Linked DNA regions of Homo sapiens: region 1 is linked to region 2. Evidence: promoter capture Hi-C in human tissues and cell types (Jung and others, 2019). All regions are on one chromosome and are shown on one strand. Each heading gives the region's core, a stretch centred on a gene start or on the middle of the fragment in contact. The rest is flanking DNA. Distances are from core to core; before and after follow the strand shown.

What was found. The method cuts DNA at HindIII sites, captures the fragments that hold promoters and counts their contacts. A contact is called where the count stands out against the background at its distance.
Region 1: a fragment that was not itself captured here is called in contact with the fragment with the promoter of MFSD8 in region 2 in 1 of the 25 tissues and cell types used here (H1 embryonic stem cells).

What each region holds. Positions count from the first base shown.
Region 1 is chr4:127,905,826-127,908,525 of GRCh38, reverse strand. No RefSeq gene overlaps it. Among named protein-coding and RNA genes, the nearest start is that of PLK4, 26 kb to the right of the region's middle. The HindIII fragment of the contact is 8,501 bases long and covers 1-2,700 here.
Region 2 is chr4:127,963,765-127,966,464 of GRCh38, reverse strand. MFSD8 (major facilitator superfamily domain containing 8) reads left to right here and starts at 1,292. Exons shown (of 12, transcript NM_001371596.2): 1 at 1,292-1,393. The coding sequence starts at 1,332. ABHD18 (abhydrolase domain containing 18) reads right to left here and starts at 1,059. Exons shown (of 13, transcript NM_001358451.3): 1 at 859-1,059. RefSeq lists enhancers at 1-181, 860-1,475, 1,066-1,485 and silencers at 576-805, 1,926-1,975, 1,986-2,115, 2,226-2,335. The HindIII fragment of the contact is 8,084 bases long and covers 1-2,700 here.

The sequences.
Region 1 (2,700 bases), core at 195-2,694, 58 kb after region 2:
TTTTAAGAGACTCTAACACCAAGTTCTGGCGAGGATGTGAAGCAAAATATACTTTTATATGCTGCAAATGGAAGTGTAAAAAAATTAGGCGTTATCTACTAAAGTTTGACATACACAAATCGTAAGATTACTAAATTCATTGCAGTAAAATCCTAGAGAAACTTGTATGTAGCTGCACCAGAAGATGTTCATAAAGTATATATTTACAGCCAAAATCTGGAAACAACTCAAATGTCCATCAACAGTATAACATATAAACAAACTGCTGTACATTCCTACACTGGAAAACTACAAAGGAACCAGTCCAGGTAGAAAAAGGAAAGCAGAGAGATGTCTCCAAAAGAGGGGATAAATGGATCAACAAAAAAGCACAGACAGATTACCTGACATATCAGAGAAAACAAAAGAATTCCAGAAAAAAAATTGTTCAAGAAATATAATTCTAGCATAGTACATAGTTCAGCTGTGAGTATTTTCTTTTTTTCTTTTTCTTTCTTTTTTTTTTTTTGAGATGGAGTTTCGCTTTTGTTGCTCAGGCTGGAATGCTATGGTGCGATCTCGGCTCACCGCAACCTCTGCTTCCTGGAGTTTCTCCTGCCTCAGCCTCCAGAGTAGCTAGGATTACAGGCATGTGCCACCATGCCTGGCTAATTTTGTATTTTTAGTAGAGATGAGGTTTCTTCATGTTGGTCATGCTGATCTCGAACTCCCGACCTCAGGTGATCCGCCTCCCTTGGCCTCCCAAAGTGCTGGGATTACAGGTGTGAGCCACTGCGCCTGGCGGAGCTATGAATATTTTCATAGTCACAGTAATATAAACATTGAATATTAAACTACCACCATACCCCTCCCCCAGAGAAAACGAGTAGAGAGAAAAAAGGGGATTAAAGGAAACTCAGCTTGAAAGAAGTAACAGGAAAAAAAGAAAAGCAAAGCAAAAATATAGTACATGCTAGAAAGCACAAAATTAATTGCTAGACATAAATCCAAATAGAACTGTAATGACAATAAGACAGCCAGAAATAACAATATATGTAAAAATTAGAAGTTATTAAATTGTAATCAAAATAAAATTTAGCTATATGTTATGTATAAGAAAAATACTTAAAAAATAGACTCACTCATAAAGACGAAGAGATAATAAAAAGTATACTAGTTAACATCTGTCAAAGCAGAAATGTATGTTTTGAGTCATTGGCCTTTAAAATTTAGCTCAGGCCAGGTGCGGTGGCTCACGCCTGTAATCCCAGCACTCTCGGAGGCCGAGACAGGTGGATCACTTGAGGTCAGGAGTTCGGGACCAGCCTGGCCAACATGTTGAAACCCCATCTCTACTAAAAATACAAAAATTAGCTGGGCATGGTGGCACATGTCTACAATTCCAGCTATTTGGGAGGCTGAGGCAGATGAATCGCTTGAACCTGAGAGGCAGAGGTTGCAGTGAGCCGAGATCATGCCACTGCACTCCAGCCTGGGTGACAGAAGGCGACTCCGTCTAAAAAAAATAATAAAATAAAATAAAATTTAGCTCGGGATTACTTTATTTCCATTTTTATTTTATTTATTTTTGAGACAGAGTCTTGCTCTGTTGCCCAGGCTGGAGTGCAGTGGCATGATCTTGGCTCACTGCAACCTCTGTCTCCCAGGTTCAAGCAATTCTCCTGCCTCAGCCTCCCGAGTAGCTGGGATTACAGGCGTGTGCCACCATGCCCAGCTAATTTTTGTATTTTTAGTAGAGATGGGGTTTCACCATGTTTGCCAGGCTGGTCTTGAACTCCTGACCTCAAGTGATTCACCCGCCTTGGCCTCCCAAAGTGTTAGGATTACAGGCATGAGCCACTGTGCCTGGCATTTTATTTCAATTTTTAAAGGGAAATTGTTATTACTGATCATATTTTCTCTAAGGGCTTACATCCTTCCTTTCCCCAAAGTTGGATTATCAATGTGGTAATTCTTATAGATACTGCCATATTACTTTCACAGTTATCATTTACACCCTAATCAACACCTGAGAATGTCTTATACATATTGTGAGCATTATTATTTCAATTTTTTTTTTTTTTTTAAAGACAGAGCCTTGCTCTGTCACCCAGGCTGGAGTGCAGTGGCGCTATCTCAGTTCACTGCAACCTCCACCTCCCGGGTTCTAGAGATTCTCGTGCCTCAGTCTCCCAAGTGGCTGGGATTAGAGGCGTGCACCACCTAACCTCGCTAATTTTTGTATTTTTAGTAGAGACACTGCTTCACCATGTTGGCCAGGCTGGTATTGAACTCCTGACCTCAGGGGACCTGCCTGCCTTGGCCTCCCAAAGTGCTGGGATTACAGGCATGAGCCACTGCACTGGGCTATTACTTAATCTTAAACCCATTCTTTGATAAAGGAAAATTATTATCTTGCTTTAACTTTGCATTTCCCCAACTTTTATGAGGTTGAGCATATTTCCTTTTTATTGACCATATGGACTTCCTTCCTTTGTGAACTATCAATTCATATGTCTTGTCCATTTTTCTACTGTGTGACAACAGAAAATTTCCTTCAATCCCCTTTTTTCTGTTACTGGTTTTCTCTGGGAGAGGGGTATGGTGGTAGTTTAATATCAGTTCTGCAATTTATGTTGCAAATATAAGTATTATTTTTCTTCCTTATTGTCTGAGGCAAAAACCTCCAAAACAATGTTGAATAATCATAACATTGTCTAC
Region 2 (2,700 bases), core at 43-2,542:
ACTAGTATAGGACCTAGCATAGGGTAAATGCTCATAAATATTAATTTAAAAAAATTAAGTTTGGTTTCCAACTTTGCCACTTCCACACAGAGTGACTCTGGGTTAACTTGTCTGGATCTTAATTTTCAGTAAACTAGCAATGTGTCTGCTTCGCCTATCTCATAGGATACTTGTGATCAAATGAAATTACATGACAATGTATCTGGCGCTAATAAAACGGTAATTTATGAGACACAGAATGACTACTGACGCCAGCTAGCCTACAAGCCTAATAGTAGAGATAAGATGTTAATACATAACCACCAAGAAATAAACATGGAGATCTAGTGAAAACCCATGACATGTTTTCTAAAAATGTCATCTTCCTTGTGACGAAAGGAGCTGGTCATTGCTAGGCAGGTGCTGTACCTTTTTCAACTCCCACGTTTCAGCAGCAGGCTCTGCTGAGTGACATTTTGCAAGGCTGAGGCCCCCGTAGGCGCAGGCGCCGTTGGGGTGCGCATCCGGGGACCTGCAGGTTACAAGCAGCAGATCCCACCTTCAGTCCTGGCTCTGACAAGCCCTCCAGGTAAGGCGCCTTTGCATTTAGCCGAGCTAGAGAAGAGAGCTGGAAGCCACCTCTACCTTTCACGGGGGGAAGGGACTGCCCGCGCGCTCGCCCCCATTATCTCAGCCCTCCGAAGCGCGCCACGGACTCCAGCCTTGTCTCTCACCCCCAGCCTCACCCCGCGTCCCTGACCCGCGAGTCTCCCGCCCAGCTCCGCGTCCCCGGTCCCTGCCTCCAGGCGCGTACACGGCGCGCTAAGAGGCGCGGGGAGCTCTTAGCGCACCTACTACTTAACCGGACCGGCTACTTACTGGCCGCCAGGTGGAAGCCTGCGATCGAGCTGGCCGGGCCTCCCAGCACCGCCGCTCTCCAGGCTCCCTTTCCAGGACTCAACTTTGGTCCCAGCCCCAATCGCAGCTCCGGTAACCTTTCCAGGAACCGAAATGCTAGATACAGCGGAAGGAGAAACGGAGGGAGGAAGACAAACCCGGAGCAGGGCGGCGCGGCAGTTTGGACACGCCCCGAGCTCTCCTGGGCTCTCAGTCCCCGTCAGGATGGGAGGCGCGTGCCGAGGGAGGAGGCTGAGGACACAGCCTCCTTTCGCCCTGCGCTGCCCGGCCTTCCGCGTGACCCCGCCTATGACCTCGGGGCGTTCCGCCTACGTCTGACCGTCAGGTGCGCACGCGCACTTACAGGCTTGTTTTGCCAGCTTCACGCCACCCGGGATGGGAGAAAGCAGGTGTCGCGAGAGTTGGGCGCAAGACGCCTTGTAGGGAGTGTAACTATGGCCGGCCTGCGGAACGAAAGTGAACAGGAGCCGCTCTTAGGCGACACACCTGGAAGCAGGTGAGCGGATCCTGGTGGAGGGACCCCTCAGTCTCCTGCGCTGTTGGGACTGGTTCCTTTCCGGGCGTCACCCGCACTGGGACAAACCCTCGCTGCCAGAGGGGTTCCAGCGCGGTGGGAGCCGGTGGCTGGGTTGTGTGAGCCGAGGAGATTCGCTCCCAACGTAGGAGAAAGGGCGTCTGGCCGCACCGTGCGGTGATGAGCCCGTGGGTTCGAGTGACGGGGCTGGAGAAACCCAGGCTGCTGCTTTGCCTGTTGCAGCACCCAAGCTGAGAGGTGACAGCGTGCTGGCAGTCCTCACAGCCCTTGCTCGCTCTCCAGGCCTCCTCTGCCTGGGCTCCCACTTTGGCGGCACTTGAGGAGCCCTTCAGCCCACCGCTGCACTGTGGGAGCCCCTTTCTGGGCTGGCCAAGGTGGGAGCCGGCTCCCTCAGCTTGCAGGGAGGTGTGGTGGGAGAGGCGTGAGCGGGAACCGGGGCTGCGCGCCGCGCTTGCGGGCCAGCTGGAGTTCCGAGTGGGCGTGGGCTTGGCGGGCCCCGCACTGGGAGCAGCAGGCCGGCCCTGCCGGCCCCGGGCAATGAGGGGCTTAGCACCCGGGCCAGCGGCTGCGGAGGGTGTGCTGGGTCCCCCAGCAGTGCCAGCCCACTGGCGCTGCGCTCGATTTCTCGCCGGGCCTTAGCTGCCTTCCCGCGGGGCAGGGCTCGGGACCTGCAGCCCGCCATGCCTGAGCCTCCCACCCACTCCGTGGGCTCCTGTGCGGCCCGAGCCTCCCCGATGAGCGCCGCTCCCTACTCCACGGTGCCTAGTCCCATCGACCACCCAAGGGCTGAGGAGTGCGGGTGCACGGCGCGGGACTGGCAGGCAGCTCCACCTGCAGCCCCGGTGCGGGATCCACTGGGCGAAGCCAGCTGGGCTCCTGAGTCTGGTGGAGACGTGGAGAACGTTTATGTCTAGCTCAGGGATTGTAACTACACCAATCGGCACTCTGTATCTAGCTCAAGGTTTGTAAACACACCAATCAGCACCCTGTGTCTAGCTCAGGGTTTGTGAATGCACCAGTCGACACTCTGTATCTAGCTACTCTGGTGGGGCCTTGGAGAACCTTTCTGTCAACACTCTGTATCTAGTTAATCTAGTGGGGACGTGGAGAACCTTTGTGTCTAGCTCAGGGATTGTAAACGCACCAATCAGCGCCCTGTCAAAACAGACTACTCGGCTCTACCAATCAGCAGGATGTGGGTGGGGCCAGATAAGAGAATAAAAGCAGGCTGCCCACCAGTAGTGGCAACCCGCTGAGGTCCCTTTCCA